Regions from separate parts of the Homo sapiens genome. Here all the other regions are linked to region 1. The links are contacts of gene promoters, found by promoter capture Hi-C in blood cells and fetal thymus (Javierre and others, 2016). All regions are on one chromosome and are shown on one strand. The core of a region is centred on a gene start or on the middle of the fragment in contact, and the rest is flanking DNA. Distances in the headings are between cores, read along the strand shown.

What was found. The method cuts DNA at HindIII sites, captures the fragments that hold promoters and counts their contacts. A CHiCAGO score of 5 or more calls a contact.
Region 2: a contact is called between a fragment that was not itself captured here and the fragment with the promoter of LINC00239 in region 1, in 1 of 17 cell types (total CD8 T cells). The highest score is 5.0, in total CD8 T cells.
Region 3: a contact is called between a fragment that was not itself captured here and the fragment with the promoter of LINC00239 in region 1, in 3 of 17 cell types (total CD8 T cells, total CD4 T cells and naive CD4 T cells). The highest score is 6.5, in total CD8 T cells.

What each region holds. Positions count from the first base shown.
Region 1 is chr14:101,728,280-101,732,268 of GRCh38, forward strand. LINC00239 (long intergenic non-protein coding RNA 239) reads left to right here and starts at 2,158. Exons shown (of 4, transcript NR_026774.1): 1 at 2,158-2,208; 2 at 3,078-3,189; 3 at 3,509-3,697; 4 at 3,957-3,989. LINC02320 (long intergenic non-protein coding RNA 2320) reads right to left here and starts at 3,027. Exons shown (of 6, transcript NR_184269.1): 1 at 2,775-3,027. RefSeq lists enhancers at 2,593-3,792, 2,835-2,894, 3,625-3,724. The HindIII fragment of the contact is 16,455 bases long and covers 1-3,761 here.
Region 2 is chr14:101,909,844-101,913,832 of GRCh38, forward strand. It overlaps PPP2R5C (protein phosphatase 2 regulatory subunit B'gamma), which reads left to right. Exons shown (of 16, transcript NM_001352913.2): 14 at 2,558-2,630. Among named protein-coding and RNA genes, the nearest start is that of DYNC1H1, 53 kb to the right of the region's middle. The HindIII fragment of the contact is 2,907 bases long and covers 507-3,413 here.
Region 3 is chr14:101,865,727-101,869,715 of GRCh38, forward strand. The region is part of intron 4 of PPP2R5C (protein phosphatase 2 regulatory subunit B'gamma); the gene reads left to right. Among named protein-coding and RNA genes, the nearest start is that of DYNC1H1, 97 kb to the right of the region's middle. The HindIII fragment of the contact is 3,689 bases long and covers 2-3,690 here.

The DNA.
Region 1 (3,989 bases), core at 908-3,407:
TTCCCCTTCTGCCATGACTGTAAGTTTCCTGAGGCCTCCCCAGCCATGCTGAACTGTCAGTCAATTAAACCTCTTTCCTTTGTAAATTACCCAGTCTCGGGTATGTCTTTATTGGCAACGTGAGAACGGACTAATAAAATCTCTCTCTCCCTTTCTGCTCTCCTTTATAGCAAGACTCTTTGGAAGTATCCATCTGGGCCAGAGTGCAGTGGCATACTCACAGCTCACTGCAGCCTCGATCTCCTGAGCCCAAGCAATTCTCGCACCTCAGCCTCTTAGTAGCTGGGACTACAGGTGTGCACCACCACTCCCCGCTAATTTGTAAAAATTTTTTGTAGGCCGGGCGCAATGTCTCATCCCTGTAATTGCAGCACTTTGGGAGGCCGAGGTGGGCGGATCACCTGAGGTCAGGAGTTGGAGACCAGCCTGGCCAACATGGTGAAACCTTGTCTCTAGTAAAATACAAAAAATTAGCCAGGTGTGTTGGCGGGCACCTGTAATCCCAGCTACTCAGGAGGCTGAATGAAGAGAATTGCTTGAACCTGGGAGGTGGAGGTTGCAGTGAGCTGAGGTTGCACCACTGCACTCCACCCTGGGCTACAGAGCGAGACTCTGTCAAAAAAAAAAAAAATTAAAAAAAAAATTTGTAGAGACAGAGTCTTGCTATGTTTCCCAGGTTGCTCTGGAACTCTTGGCCTCAAGCAATCCCTACCTCAACTTCCCAAAGTGCTGAGCTTATAGGTGTGAGCCCCTGCACCCAGCTGGAAGTATCTATTCTTATTATCTTCAATTTTTCTCCTCCCATTTTCTCTTGAACCTTTTCAATCAGTATTTGCCTCCTACCACCACATTGAAGCCCTCCAGTGGCTTCCCTATTTCATTTGGGATAAAATCCAAAGTCTTGGCCAGGTGCGGTGGCTCATGCCTGTAATCCCAACACTTTGGGAGGCCAAGGTGGGCAGATCACTTAAGCTCAGGAGTTCAAGACCAGCCTGGGCAACATGGTGAAACCCCATCTCTACAAAAAGTACAAAAATTAGCCATGTGTAGGGGCGCATGGCTGTAATCCCAACTACTTGAGGTGCTGAGGCAGGAGGATTGCGTGAACTTGGGAGGTCGAGGCTGTAGTGAGCCAAGATCATGCCACTGCACTCCAGCATGGGTGACAGAGCGAGACCTTGTCTCAAAAAAGAAAAATAAAGCCAGAGTCTTCGCAGTGCCCACAAGACCCTACGTGACCTGATCTCCCATGACTCATTGCTCCTCGACAGCCACCACTCCGTTCCATGGAGTAGCCCAGGCCAACTGCTCTGCAGCCAAACTCAGGGAAACTTGGAGAACATGTGTGGACCAGAGGACCCCTTCCTCCTGGCTACCAAAAGAACCCCCAAATCCTGCAGCCCACCAGCTGTGTGCCCAGACACAATCTGGAGTAGAGGAGTAGACAGTGGCAGCCATCAGAAGCCCCACTGGCCAAACACTTCAGCCTCAGAATGCTGAGCTGCTCAAAGAACTGGTTAAATGTTTGTATTAGACCAAGGTTACTAGAATGGATGTTTCTCCCCATTGTATTACCCAGCAGAGAGTACCTTTCAAGAAAGATCAGATTAATTAAGTAGGAAAATGAAGACACTCTATTTTCTTTGCACATCTGATGTATTGTGAGTGATTTTGTGACCCTGCTACGTGCACGCATATGCACAGAAAAAAAATATCTTAGAATGTAGACCAAAATATTAACAGTGGTTATGGATGAGTGATGGATGAGTGAACTAACTATAGATTTGGAAGGATATTGTCTGTTTTAAAAGAAAATGAACACTTTCACTCCCAAACAAGACGGAATGTAGAGACTGGATTTCCTCTCCTGCCTGAAAAAGTCAAAATAAATTGGACCAAATATATAAAACAAGAGTTCTCAAGACACTGGATGATATGGTTTTGCTATGTCCCCACCCAAATCTCATCTTGAATTGTAGCTCCCATAATTCCCATGTGTTGTGGGAGGGACCTGGTGGGAGATATTTGAATCATGGGGGTGGTTTCCCCCATACTGTTCTCGTGGTAGTGAACAAGTCTCACGAGATCTGATGGTTTTATAAGGGGTTTCCCTCTCCACTTGGTTCCATTCTCTCTTGTCCACCACCATATAAGATGTGCCTTTCACCTTCTGCCATGATTGTAAGGCTTCCCCAGGCCCGTGGAACTGTGAGTCCATTAAACCTATTAAACCTGTTTTTCCTTATAATTTACCCAGTCTCGGGTATGTCTTTATCAGCAGCATGAGGACAGACTAATACACTGGATATCAGGTAACTAGGCACAATGATTTCTGAGAATGTGGAAAATAAAGTGAGCCTGCAATTAACCCAGCTTCCTTTCTTGAGAGGGTTTCCAAGCTACAGTATGGACAAGGGTACCCAGGTGGGGCCTGGCAGGCTCTTCGAGTTGGGAAGACAGAGCTGAGAGTCCAGGGAGACTCTGGTCACAGGTAGGGGCAGGGGGGTGATGCTGAGAGCCCCTGGGGCATGCCTGCCCTCTACAAAGCTCGTGGTTGAATGCAGGGAGGTGGTCTGGGGGTGGACTTGGGCAATGGGGAGGCTGCATGGGTTAGAGCCAAGCTCTCCCCTCTTCCAGTCTGTCTGGGCCTCTGCAGCTCCCGGTAACTTTGCACTGATTCCAGAGACAGTGATTGCTCAGGTACCCAGGTCTGGGTGTAATTAAAAAAAAAACAAAACAACAACAACAACAACAACAACAACAAAAAACCAAACCTGGCTCTTGGTGCTTTCAGAGATGGCTCAGAGCAGGAATTCTCTAGCTTTGGGGTGCATCCTCAGAGGTGGGGGGGGGCTTGCTGAAAAGACAGGTGTATGGTCCCACCTCAGGCCTGCTGAACAGAAGCTCTGGAGCAGGCTCAGGAGTTTCTTTTCTAACAGGCTCCCCGAGAGATCCTAGCAAATGTTTGCACAACACTCACTTGGAAGCTATGTGACCAAAACCATGATCACAGGGTTGTCCCTGAACACGGTGGGGAAATAACCTCTCCCTTAAATCTCCCCTGCGTGGTGACTTAGGGGAGGAGCCGGAAGAGAGCAGTGCTTCACAATAAAAGGAAGAATTGCTTGAACGGAGGCGTTTCAGGCATGAGTCACAGGCCGGGTGTGGAAGAGGAAAGTGTGAAGCAAGGTAGGCTTCCCAGCACCCCTCCATGCACAGCAGGGGCTGGCCAGCCTCAGCCAGGCCAGATGGAGCCCTGGAGGGTGGGGCTGGCTGCCCAGCTAGAGTGTCTCCTTTTACTTCCAGCAGGAAAAAAAGGCCTCCTGTCAATAGCAGAATCATCTACGTTTTCCCTGCCTTCCTCACTTAAATGCTTTCGAGGAGTGGGAGGAAGAAATTGGAGGCTGGAATGAATACCCTTTGCCCTCCTCTGAAAGCAGCCTGGGAGGGGTGACGGGGTGTAGGAGCAGAGACTTCAAGTGGCCCCCACCTGCCAAACCATTCTCAGGGACAGGTACCAGCTGGGATGTTGGCAGCAGCCGCTCCCCTGCAAGGAGAACCTCCCACTTCCTGTCCCGCACACCTGCCTCATTGGAAAGTGACGCACCCACTGTTTGGCCTCGGCAGCCTGATGTTTCTCATCACACAGGAAGACGGTCATGCTACAGGAAGACCTCGGACTTTGCATCCAGCAGATGTGAGTTCAAATTCCAGCTTTGTAATTTGCAAGCTCAGAGGTGGATTTGCTGGGAAGCTAAACAAGCTTACCTGCAGAGCCCCCAGCTTGCATGGGCCCCTCCCAAGACCTTAACCTCATTTTGTATTCATAATTTTGTAGTCTTTTCCCTTCAAAAGGCAGCCCAAATTTAAAAGCATTAAGCCCCACAAGACCTGAGTCCACCTAGGAGGTGGGAGATATCCCTTGCAGCATGAGAATAATAATTACCACCTCGTAGGGTTGTTCTAGAGATTGTCAGACCGAGACCACG
Region 2 (3,989 bases), core at 710-3,209, 180 kb after region 1:
TAACGTATTTTGAAAGAACAGGTGTTTAAAGGTAGCTATTCTCCCCCCTTGTATTGCCAGATTAATCATCTTTGCAAAAAGTGCTTATGTAAGCAAGAATTTAACATTCAGAATTTTTTCTTTTCTTGGGCTATAATGGGCTTAAAGGCTATAATGTGTAGTCCATTTTCATGTTTATAAGGCAGGGATTTGAATTATATCCTATAAGGTTTATCCCAGAGAGCAAGAATCTTCATTTCAATGTAGCTTTATTCTGATTTAATGAACTCAGCGATGTGGGTGTTCTCTGGAATCTAGTCTGTCCTTTGCAAAATCAGGGTCCTGCCCTCGTGCCTTTGAGCCCACATGTGTCCAGGGATGATCTAAGTGACAAAGTACTTCGTCCCTAGGCTGTGCAAGTAATAATGTGATTAAATAGTTGTTGGAGGTCACTTCTTCCAAGTTGAGTATGGACTATTGGCAGATTTTATTTTTTGCTTGTCACTTAAAACTGGCTAAGGTAGATAAGCTTTGCACGAATGTAATTCAAAATACACTGTATACATATGTGTGTATCTATGTGTGTGTGTGTGTGTGTATATATATGAAACAACTGCCATTTAGTCATTCCTTAGACAAATATGTGAATATTTACCTTATACACCAGGCCCTGTTTTAGATTCTGGCAATATAGCAATGAATAAAACCCACAAAAATCCTTGCCCCTGGGCCGGGTGCGGTGGCTCACGCCTGTAATCCCAGCACTTTGGGAGGCCAAGGCGGGTGGATCACAAGGTCAGGAGATTGAGACCATGCTGGCTAACACGGTGAAACCCCATCTCTACTAAAAAATACCAAAAAAGGGCCAGGCGTGGTGGCTCATGCCTGTAATCCCAGCGCTTTGGGAGGCCGATGCAGGCAGATCACGAGGTCAGGAGATCGAGACCATCCTGGCTAACACAATGAAACCCCGTCTCTACTAAAAATACAAAAAAAAAGGCCGGGCATGGTGGCTCATGCCTGTAATCCCAGCACTTTGGGAGGCCAAAGCAGGCAGATCACCTGAGGTCAGGAGTTCGAGACAAGCCTGGCGAACACAGTGAAACCCCGTCTCTACTGAAAATACAAAAAATTAGCCGGGCGTGGTGGCAGGCGCCTGTGGTCCCAGCTACTCAGAGTCTGAGGCAGGAGAATGGTGTGAACCTGGGAGGCGGAGCTTGCAGTGAGCTGAGCTCACACCACTGCACTCCAGCCTGGGAGACAGAGAGAGACTCCGTCTCAAAAAAAAAAAAAATACAAAAAAAAATCAGCCGGGTGTGGTGGCGGGTGCCTGTAGTCCCAGCTACTCGGGCTGAGGCAGGAGGATGGCGTGAACCTGGAGGCGGAGCTTGCAGTGAGCCAAGATCACGCCACTGCACTCCAGCCTGGGCGACAGAGCGAGACTCCGTCTCAAAAAAAAAATCCTTGCCCTTTTGGGGTTTATATTCTGGGTAGTGTGGGGAAATAAAAGAACACAAAATACACCTAAGTGAACTATAGAGCATGAGAGATGACAAGTCAGTCAGGAAAGGGCCGGGGAGACAGACCAGCCATTCCTCTAGAGCTGCCAGCTGCATGGTCTGTTCTCATCTCAGCTCTCAGTGCAGTTCGCAGGTAGGAAGCATGCAAGCAGCAGGGCCTTCTGATGGCAGATCCTCCTCTCGTGGAATCCCACAGCTTTCCCAACAGGACCTTAAAGGTTGTGTAGTACATTTTCTGGGTTGAAAAACTTGGATCCTGGCCGGGCGCAGTGGCTCACACCTGTAATCCCAGCACTTTGGGAGGTTATGGCTGGTGGATCATTTGAGGTCAGGAGTTCGAGACCAGCCTGGCCAATATTGTGAAACCCCATCTCTACTAAAAGTACGAAAATTAGCCGGGCGGTAGTAGCACGCACCTGTAATCCCAGCTACTCGGGAGGTTGAGGCAGGAGAATTGCTTGAGCTCGGGAGGTGGAGGTTGCAGTGAGCCAAGATCCTGCTACTGCACTCCAGTCTGGGCGACAGAGTGAGGCCCTGTCTCAAAAAAAAAAAAAAACTTGGATCTGAGTTAAGCGATTGAAAGTCATGTGACTCGCAGTGGAGTCAGTCAACAACCCAGGTCTCCTGGCTCTTAAGACGTTTCCTTTTTAATATTATAGGAATGGGAATGCTGGCTCCTTTTACAGTACTGGTCCCTTTACACTGTACTGCATACTCGTTTTTTCAGTGGATATATGAGCTTCTTGTCAAAATTATGTGGGTCCCATGAAGAAACATCTAACCAGGGGAAGGGGGAAGGATTGAGACATAAGACGTACTTATATAAGATTTCTTTTAAGAATTCCAATCTTGGACATGTTAAATTTTTTTATATTTTCTCATGTTTAAATCTCAGTTCGTTTTTCATGCTGTGCTCAGCACGTAAGTGTGGGGAAATGGAGCAGGGGGGCTGCGGGAGGAGCCGCTGGCTGGGCTCAACATGCCTGTGCCTTTTCCCCTTCAGTGTGTTCTTGTGTCTGATGCATCTCTAACACAGATGACATTTTACTGTTTTTCAGAGAGAAGCTAAAAATGAAAGAACGGGAAGAAGCATGGGTTAAAATAGAAAATCTAGCCAAAGCCAATCCCCAGGTACTAAAAAAGAGAATAACATGAAAACGCCCAGGGTTACTTGAATGTTTTTATAAGATAGGAATATATGTCTTCACCATGGGGGGGGTCTCGATTTCACTAACGTTGTATATGAAAATGTCTGCAATAAAAAGTACTTTTAAACTTTGTAACCCTCCTTTTGTACAAGTACTTATTTTGCCCCATATCGTTTTACCACAGAATTGACTTTTTTCCTCTGCTTTTTAAATAAGATCTGAATCTTATGCATATACTGTGGTAAAAAGAAAACTTGAATACAGCCTGAGACTGTGCCTCCTCTCTCAGATATCATAGATGCTGTCACTCAAACAGCATTTCCCTTTCTTTTTCATATGAAATTAGTTCTAAAAGAAAGGAAATTAGATTGGAAATAGATTAAGTATGACGTTTTGATGTCCTCTTTCTTTGTATGAGGTTTCTGTAAGCCCAGCCTTTTATCATTAAAAATCAGCTGAATTCTGCCACATTAGCAGCCAACCCTCCTTCCCACCCCAGCAGCGGGTGCCAGTGTGCTCTGGTGAGTCTGCGCCGATGGCCGGACGTCCCGGAGCTGCCGGCAGTTCCAGCTGCCGGGGCTGCCAGGGTCCGGGAGGGTTTCCTGGTGTCATGGTCTTTGGGTTTGATGTACGCTGCTGTAAATGACTAGAGCGTTATGACAGTTTCTTCACGTTCTGTGTGCCTGATTATAACAGTGCCTCTTAAAAAGAAAATCTTTTTCAGAAAATCTTTTGTCTGAATCTTTGCCACTCTTAAGAATTCTCAAGCTTTCCTTCAACTCTCCAGAAAAGATTTTACCGAACAATGTATTTCTTTTAGTGAGAGATATGCATAGTTACCTAAGTTGGTTTTTAGATTTCTCTGACACTTAATAAAAAGTTATACATGAATATAAAGTTAAAAGTATATCTTTACCTATATAACAACATACTGGTTTGTATACTCTGATAAAACTGCAATCAGGAAACTCAAATCAGGAAAACGGAATGACATTTCTAATTGTGAGCCCTTGAGTCCACCTAAAACAGGTAGCCAGCATTTTTCTAGCAGTTATTTACTCATGCTGACAGAAATGCTGTTTTAAGATTACTGTCTAAAACTGTATAATCCTTAATTGAGGTAGGTAGCTATAGGCGTCTCCTTTTAACGAATTGAATTTATGTTGAAAGTGTGGTTAAAATACTGATATTTGTTTTAAAACATGGTAACACTATAAACCTGGGCAAGTTTATAAGGCCCAGCCCTGCCTGACGCTGCCCTGCGTGTCTTGCTTTGTTCTGAAGAGCCTCAGGCAAAGTGGGTGCTGATAGCCCTCAGGATTGTCAAGGACCCCAGTACACA
Region 3 (3,989 bases), core at 596-3,095, 140 kb after region 1:
AAGCTTGGGCAGCCCCCGTGACAAAGTTGTCAGTGTCCTCGGAAGTGGCCAGAAAGAGACAAGCCTCCAAGATTTCTCAGAATGCTTACCAGGGGGACGCCTCAATGCAGCCTTCTTTCTTCATATTCGTACGGGACTTATTTCTAATTCTCGCTCCAGACTCTGATATCTTGAGGTTACTTAACTTTTTTTTGAGACAGAGTCTTTCTCTGTCGCCAGGCTGGAGTGCAGTGGCGTAATCTCGGCTCACTGCAACCTCCCAGGTTCAAGTAATTCTCCTGCCTCAGCCTCCCAAGTAGCTGGGATTACAGGCATGCGCCACCACACCCAGCTAATTTTTGTATTTTTAATAGAGACAGGGTTTCACCATGTTGGCCAGGATGATCTCAAACTCCTGATCTCAGGTGATCTGCCCACCTCAGCCTCCCAGAGTACTGGGATAACTGGCGTGAGCCAGCGCCCAGCCTCTATTTTCTTATTTAGAAAGTTATCATGCTGTGGAACTACTTCATAGAGAGTTAGTTAGATTAGTTTAAATGGTGATTGGAAGATTAAAAATACATGGTCTGAAGTATGATTTCATGTTTGTAACATATAAATAAATTCATGAAAATAAAATCAAACTTAGGGAGAGAAAGTAACTTGTGAAATACTCTACAGAGTACGGTGACCCAGCCCTGTGGCACCATCCACACCACAGATTGATTTGGTTCCATTTTATCGATAGATTTTTAAAATAAAGCTGAAGGCCTCGCCAACATGGTGAAACCCCATCTCTACTAAAAATACAAAAATTAGCTGGGCATGGTGTTGCACACCTGTAATCCCAGCTACTTGGGAGGCTGAGGCAGGAGAATCGCTTAAACCCTGGAGGCGGAGGTTGCAGTGAGCCAAGATCACGCTACTGTGCTCCAACCTGACGGACAGAGCAAGACTCCGTCTCAAAAAAATAAATAAATAAATAAAAAAGCTGAAGGAATATAGTACAAACTGTTAATAGTAGGTGTCTTTGGGTGGTATCATTAATTTTTCCCTTTTACTATACACTTTTGTAATTTTTAAAAAAATTCAGAATGGGCCAGGCACAGTGGCTCATGCCTATAATCCAACTTTGGGAGGCCAGGGCAGGAGGATCACTTGAGATCAGGAGTTGGAGACCAGCCTGGGCAACGTAGCAAGACCTTGTGTCTACAAAAAAAATTTTTTTAGGCCGGGCACGGTGGCTCACACCTGTAATCCCAGCACTTTGGGAGGCTGAAGCGGACAGATCACCTGAAGTTAGGAGTTCAAGAGCAGCCTGGCCAACGTGGTGGAACCCTGTCTCTACTAAAATTACAAAAATTAGCCAGGCGTGGTGGCGCATGCCTGTAATCTCAGCTACTCGGGAGGCTGAGGCAAGAGAATTGCTTGAACCCAGGAGGCAGAGGTTGCAGTAAGCTGAGATCATGCAACTGTACTCCAGCCTGGGCGACAGAGCGAGACTCTGTCAAAAAAAAAAAAGCAAGAAGAAAGAGAAAGTTTTTTAATAGCTGGGTGTGGTGGCGCACGCCTGCACCTATATGCCTAGCTACTCGGTCGGGGCTGAGGTGGGAGGCTTGTTTGAGCTCAGGAGCTTAAGGCTGCAATGAGGTATGATTGTGCCACTGCACTCCTACCTGGGCAACAGAGCAAGACTCTGCCTCAAAAAAAAAAATTAATAATTATGTACCACATTTGTCATCATCAAAAACCAGTAAAGATATTTTTCTTTCTTAAAAATAAAAACAAGCGGCCAGGCGCGGTAGCTCATGCCTGTAATCCCAGCACTTTGGGAAGCCGAGGCAGGTGGATCACCTGAGGTCAGGAGCTCGAGACCAGCCTGACCAGTATGGTGTAACCTCATCTCTACTAAAAATATGAAAATTAGCCAGGCATGGTGGCGGGCACCTGTAGTCCCAGCTACTCGGGAGGCTGAGGCAGAAGGATTGCTGGAACCCTGGAGGTGGAGGTTGCAGTGAGCCAAGATTGCACCACTGCACTCCAGCCTGAGCGACAGAGCAAGATTCCATCAAAAAAATTAATTAATTAATTAAAAAGATAAAATAAAAACAAGCTATCCGTATGTAATATAGTACTGTTTTTATCAGGACTCTTGTTGGTTTCCAGGGAAAACTAGTTGATCACATTATTTTAATCCGCACTGTCTGTAAGTGATTTGATGTTGACTTACACGTTTTATGGGCATGAGAGTGTTCTTAGGATCTGTTGGCCGGGTCCTGGGGGAGGTCTCACACCCTGCACCCCCAGATGGGTGTCCTGTGCTTCACTTAGGGACTGATGTGGGGCACGTTCCTTCTTCTATTTTTATAGCTGATATTTACAGTGTGTTCTGGAAAGTTTTACTTGCTATAAGGGTGATGATAGTTTGGGAGAGGAAAGAATGTGTTGAATTAAGAGGGATAGTACATTGACCAATGGAGTTGCAGTCAAATTTATTTCAAGTGAGGATTTAAATCATGCATTCCCAAGTACTTTTTGAAATCCAGAGAATGATTTTTCTACTTTAAATATCAGTAAGCTGTTTTTTAGAGGTTTGTTTGTTCTTACGATTTTGAGATTTTCCTTTGATGTTTTTAAATTATAAAAGAAATACATGCTTATGTGATAACAAATGAAACAAATACGAAAGCATTTTAAAAAGTTAATCTTTTTCCTACTTCACCCCTCCCCAGTTCTACCCATCTCTACCTCCAATCAGCCAATTCATGTTTATTGTATTTTCAGAAGGCTGCTGAGAAACTTTTGGGATGATGAGTATGTTCATTATCTGATTATATGATTGTTTCACAGATATATGCATATGTTAAATATCAAATTTTACACTTTAAATATGTACATTTAATTGTATATAAATTATATCTCAGTAAAGCTGGGTGTTTTCAGATGTCCAAACTTGTTAGGTATTTCTTTTGGTCTAGGGGTGCAGTGAAGAAATTACTAAGACACCAAGGGCATTGTGAACCAAGAAGTTTTGGGAACTTATGACCTAGTGAATATCTTTCCATAACTTTTTTTAAATTAATTTTTTATTTACATATAGTGAAATTCACTCTTTCTTGTGGCCAGTTCTCGGAACTTTGATAAATGTGTATAGTCACGTCTTCCGCACCACAGTCAGGATATAGAACAGTTTCTTTTGGTTTTGTTTGTTTGTTTGTTTGTTTGTTTTTGAGACGGAGTCTCTGTTGCCTGGCTGGAGTGCAGTGGCACCATATCAGCTCACTGCAACCTCCGCCTCCTGTGTTCAAGTGATTCTTCTGCCTCAGCCTCCCGAGTAGAAGAACAGTTTCTTCAGCCTCCAGAAACATGGCTTTATGCTCACTTTGTAGTCAGAGCCTTCCCCTTCCTTTCTCTCTGCCCCTCACTAGTCTGTTCTCTATCACATCATTTTGTCTTTTCCAGAATGGAAACTCCATAGAAATGGATTCAGTGTATAGCCTTTGGGTCTAGCTTCTTTCGCTTAGCTTGATGCATTGGACATTCGTCCATGTTGTCACACAGTTTGTTCCTTTTCCTTCTCAGTGTTGTCTCATTATATAAAAGTAACACCATTTGCTTATCCATTTCCTATGGAGGGATATTTGAGGTGTTTCCAGTTTTATTTGGAGCAATAAAACTTTTATAAATACTTACATACCGATTTTAGACATAAGCTTTTATTTAACTTGGGTAAACACATAGGGATGCAATCGCTAGGTGAATGGTAAGTGTGTGTTGAGCTTTCTAAGGAACTGCCAAACCGTTTTCCAAAGTGGCTGCCCCGTGTGATTCCCCCAACAGTGCGTGAGTTCTCATGCCTCCCGTATCTTTGTCAATATTTGGTGTCATCAGTCCTTTTATCTCATTTTGATTTTAATTTGCATTTCCTTAATGACTAATTATGCCAGGCTTGTTTGTTTGTTTTTTGGAGACAGGGTCTCGCTCTGCCAGCCAGGCTGGAGTGCAGTGGC